Regions from separate parts of the Homo sapiens genome. Here region 2 is linked to region 1. The links are contacts of gene promoters, found by promoter capture Hi-C in blood cells and fetal thymus (Javierre and others, 2016). All regions are on one chromosome and are shown on one strand. The core of a region is centred on a gene start or on the middle of the fragment in contact, and the rest is flanking DNA. Distances in the headings are between cores, read along the strand shown.

The links. Contacts are between HindIII fragments. The CHiCAGO score rates a contact against its expected background, and 5 or more counts as called.
Region 2: a fragment that was not itself captured here is called in contact with the fragment with the promoter of PPP1R36 in region 1 in 1 of 17 cell types (megakaryocytes); the score reaches 5.0 in megakaryocytes.

What each region holds. Positions count from the first base shown.
Region 1 is chr14:64,548,649-64,551,277 of GRCh38, reverse strand. PPP1R36 (protein phosphatase 1 regulatory subunit 36) reads right to left here and starts at 1,317. Exons shown (of 12, transcript NM_172365.3): 1 at 1,212-1,317; 2 at 293-357. The coding sequence starts at 1,280. RefSeq lists a silencer at 1,162-1,451. The HindIII fragment of the contact is 10,629 bases long and covers 1-2,629 here.
Region 2 is chr14:64,608,547-64,611,175 of GRCh38, reverse strand. No RefSeq gene overlaps it. Among named protein-coding and RNA genes, the nearest start is that of PPP1R36, 60 kb to the right of the region's middle. The HindIII fragment of the contact is 1,936 bases long and covers 372-2,307 here.

The DNA of each region.
Region 1 (2,629 bases), core at 68-2,567:
AAGTCACTTAATTTTCCTCAAGTCGCTGAACCCTTTGAAACCTCAGTTTCTTCATCTGTAAATTGGTTAACATGCAGCTGTTTCAAAGAGTTGGTAAACATTAGCACAGTGTCTGGTCCATGTGAAGCAGCTGGTAAGCGTTCAGAGAAAGGCTGTTCACTGAAATGATTGTTTCCTTCCAGATGGCAAAGGTTCAGTGGGTATTTATTCTCTATACTCTTCTGTTGCTTTTTTTTCCCCCAGGCACATGTAATTTTTATAAAAACTCTAATAAAGTGTTGTTAAATTTTACCTTCTGAATTCAAGAGTTCTGGTTTCATCTTTCCAGTACCACATCCCTAATCGTAATCCCAACTGCTGTAAAACGAAATGATTGCAGCAAAAATAATTAAAAGCTCAATTTACAATCCATATGCCACAATAAACCTTTAACAATAATTCCTACTTACTAACACATCTTTTAAGTAATAAGAAGGAAACAAAAAACAATGGTTCCTACTAGTCCCTCTTTACACTTTCAGTAAGAGTGTAGAATCCTAAAGCGTTAAACTTGAAGCTAGGATTTTATCGCTTTGATTGATTTTAGGTGTGGCTTCAGTAGAACGGCAGGAAGGAGGGAGAGGGAGAAAGGAAGGGAGGAAAGTAGGAAAAGAGGAAAGAAGCAGCGGAGGAAGGGAAGGGCGAAAGATAGGAAGGAAATTGGGACTACATATAGCTCATCATAGCAATCTACCAATTAATTGAAATTCAGACAATAAACTGATACCCAGGACAGCCTCAGCTGTCTGGTTCTGGAGACTTCCGGGCTCCAACACTGAGCCTGCCCTTTACAGGCAGTGGCAAAAAGTTAAGTACACCCTTTTCACCGTGGAAGCTAGCACCCACCAGCCTTTCTATCCAGAGCGGGGCTGCTTCCCCCGCAGTAGGTCTCCCTATTTTGCAACCAACCAATTAGAGGTGGTGAGGTGGGATTTCGTAAATATCTAACTACCTGCGCAGGGAGCCAGAATTCAATTCTGACCATCTGTCAAATACACCAGAGTTTTTTTTTTTTCTAGGCAAATATGGCCAGGTGTCTTTGAGAACCGCCAGCCCGGGGCGAAGGCGACGACCCGCCTCTGGAGGAGGGCGAGGGGCGCGGCGCCGGTTGGGGGCAGCAGGGCCCGCCTTGCGCCCAGCCCGGGTATGGGGGCGACCAAGGCTGCACTTACATCCATCAAGTAAGGGGTCTGCCCACCTAACCGCTTCCTCCTCGCATAAAACTCGGGCACCCGGTACATGGCCTCGCCCTGGAAGCCATACGGCGTCGCCGAGGATACCGCCCGCAGGCGCCTGCACACGGCTGCCCGGGGCGCGGAGCGGGGCGGGGCGTCGCTTCCGTCCTAGGCCGCGCGGGCTGCGGCCGCACCCAGGCTTCTCCAGCGATTTCTAAAGCCCAGCCTGGTGCCCCGTTTCCCAGTCTTAAAAGCCGTGGCGACGTATTGGCCTATCCATTGTAAAGCCGCCCAGGGCATAATTCTTCATGGCATTCCAACCTTGAACTTCATGAAGTTATTCACTTTACTGTTTTAATTGGAGTAACTACATTCAGTCCTATAGGGAAGAAAGATCCATTTCTTCCTAACTTTCATGATTAGCACTATTATTAAGTTCAAATCCAGGATGAACCTAGGTTGATGGGGAGAGCAGGGTTGAGGTGGGGAAGCAGGGTAGCCTCGTGGAAGAGAACATGGGTACGGAAATAAGGTTTTCATAACAGTTGTGCTGCTTAACAAGCTGTGGAATCTAGGACAAGACTATTCTGATCTTTCTTCTGAAAACACCAAATCAGGGGTTATGTGGATTTTTGGAGTGGTGTGTGTAAAGCACCAGTCTTAAGTACTCAAAATTAGTGTTGCTCAAAAACAAAGAAACTTGCTTAGTGTCAATGGGTATTCAATTGATATTTTTACATTTACACTTTTCAAATCATGTGTCTTGTAATTCCTTCTTGCAACGGAGTTGATAATGCTGATTCTGGCTGATTTTTTTCCTCCCAGCTCTAAGTGAGCAATGCTAGATGATGCAACATGATTGGGAATGCCTAGTATATTCTTTTGTATCACCACAGCTTAATTGGTATGAGAGGCTCATAAGTAGTGGATATATACTCCCATTAACTTTTAAGTTATGTCAGTAGTCATCCCACTGCTTCTTCTATTCCCACCCTCCCAGTCTCACTACTTGGTAATACACAATCACTGGCTACAGTGATTAAATAGTAATCATCTAGATTCATGTTCTGCTCACTTGAGTCCATTCTGGCAGCTGTTCAGTTGGTCCAGGTATATGGAAACCCACTTATATACTGGCCGCAGGCAAGGCTTTCTTACTACAAGATGACACGCTTGAAAAGGAGACTATCCCATATGCCAAGAGCTTTTCACCAAGTAGCGAACATAACTTGGGGTGGACAGGACAGGGAAATAATGAGGTAAAGCTCAAGAAAAGATGCAGACAGACCAAGGAATCTGGATGGCATCCAATCACTACATAATCATTACCGGGAAGACCACACTAGTGGTCAGTAAACCTCTTCAGTTCATCCCAATAATGTGTGGAGAAGTGCTGATAGAAAACTTAAGATCTA
Region 2 (2,629 bases), core at 90-2,589, 60 kb before region 1:
AATCTAAACATGTTAATATGGAAAGATCTCACATTAGCCATACAGAATGTGTAGTAAGTTTCCATTTGACATAAATTTGTTATGTATACATACTTATATATACTTACTATACTATACACACATACATGTAACACATATATATCGTGTGTGTGTGCGTGTGTGTTGTGTGTAGTAACTCACGACAGGCACCAATCAGAAAGAATGCCACCTGTAGTGCCAGAACATCTGTGCATGGCATAACCCTTTAGATGATTGTAAAGAAGGGGGTCCCAGAAAAGGGGCCAGAGTGGCTGGGTCTCAGGGGCCTGGAGCAGTGTCTATTTACCAGCTTATATGGAAATATTTGAAGATATTCACAAGTAGATGAAGCTTAGTCCTTACATGCAGAAAATAATTCTGGAAGTATTCCCAAGAGACTGATACTAACAGCCTATCAATCAAGATTGGCTGATTTAAACAGAAAGATAAATTACTGGGTAAAAAGAATATTGGGTTCAGTCTCCAGAATGGCTAAGAAAACAGACAAGAATAAAGGGAGGGTGGACAACTAGCCACAGCCACAAGCAAGGCCGCACGACTGGCCAGTCCAATGAACCCCCTGCTGCTACCACCCGTGGTCACTAGATGCTGCTTCTGGTACCACAGCCACTTGAGGACTTTGCAGTAGCACTTAGCACATCCTCTTGTAACCATTTAGATATGCACCTGTTCTTCCCTCTGGACTGTGAGCCTCTTAAGCATAGGAAGAGCACCTTATTAATCTCTGGATTTCCAGCCTCCAACCCAGTCCCTGGCACAGAGTGAGCAGAATACTAAAAGAAATAAATGAGCAAACATAATTTAATTGCTAGATATTACATCAATGTAGGCAGAGAGAGTGAAAGCGGCATTTAGCTGTATGTGTCACTTTCAAACCTCAAAAATGAAAAGGTGCACATGCTTTCTCATTCTCTATTCTTCCATTGAAGGCTTGTCAGATGTGGCTTCAAAAAAAATGCATGGCTTGGGTTTCACGGTAGACTAGTTCTGTCCCTTTCTCTAAATTGAGCATTCTTTTTAGCAGAGATTTTTATAAAGCTATAATTCCATGAAGTTATCATCTTAACTTCAAATGTTAGGTCCAGATAAAGTGGGACTAGGAGTCAATTGAACTTCCATCTCTATTGAAATGTTTGTTTTGTCACATCAAAGAATGTCCAATCACATCTCTGAACCTTTCCTAAGCAAGCAACTTGAAACCAAACATGGCTCATATTGACCAGGGTTCTGGAGAGAAAAAGCAAATAGCAACTATATATTAATAATTGCAGTCATTTTCATACTCAGCCAGGAATCAGGGATATAAATCAGAATTCTGGCTTTGCTGGAACCACAAACAAACCATGTAACCCTTGCAAGTTTCACCTGCTTCTTCTAGACCACAGAGGAGTTAGAGAGTGGGAGGCTCTGAGGACAAAGGATAATAGCATGCTCATAACAATCATGATACAAAGAAAGTAGGCAGTCCTTATTTATGATTATATACATCTACCTAATACAATTCACTATAAAAGGTATAAGCTCAGAGAAATGAAAACTTAACGTTCACACACAAAAAAACCTGTAGATGAATGTTTGCAGCTTTATTTGTAATAGCCCCAAACTGGAAATAACACAGATGACTTACAAAGGACAAATTAAACAAACTATGGTACATTCACATAATAGAATACTAGTTAGCGATAAAAGTAAACTATTGATAAATGCAACAACCTGGGTGGAATTTCCAGAGAATCATGCTGAGTAAAAAAGTCAATCCCAGTAAATTACATGCTAAATGAATCCATGCATACAACATTCTTGAAATAAGAAGTGTATGTGGCTATAAAACATGAGGGACTCTTGGTTTTTGTTGTTGTTGTTGATGGTGGTGGTGGTGGTTTTAGACAGGGTCTTGCTGCATCACCCAGGCTGGAGTGCAGTGGCATGATCACAGCTCCCTGCAGCCTCAACCTCCTGGGTTCAAGTGATCTTCCCATCTCAGCCTCCCAAGTAGCTGGGACCACAGGTGTGCACCACTACGCCCGGCTATTTTTTTTTTTTTTTTTTTTTAGTAGAGGTGGGGTCTCAGTATGTTGCCCAGGGTGGTCTCAAGCTCCTGGGCTCAAGCAATCCTCCCGCCTTGGCCTCCCAAAATGCTGGGATTATAGGCATGAGCCACCATGCCCTGCCATGTCCTATGTCTTGACTGGTTCAATATCAATATCCACTGTAAAATTGCACTATAATTTTGCAAGATGCTACCATTGGGAGAAACTGGGTAAAGCTTTCACGGGATCTCTGTGTATTATTTCTTACAACTGCATATGAATCAGTAATTATCTCAAAAAAAGTTTAATTTAAAAAAGAAACAAATGAAAATGTATAAGCAAGATAAAGCTGTAAAAATAGGAAACAAGGCCGGGCGCAGTGGCTCATGCCTGTAATCCCAGCACTTTGGGAGGCCGAGTCGGGCGGATCACAAGGTCAGGAGATCGAGACCATCCTGGCTAACACGGTGAAACCCCATCTCTACTAAAAATACAAAAAAATTAGCCAGGCATGGTGGCGGGCGCCTGTAGTCCCAGCTACTCGGGAGGCTGAGGCAGGA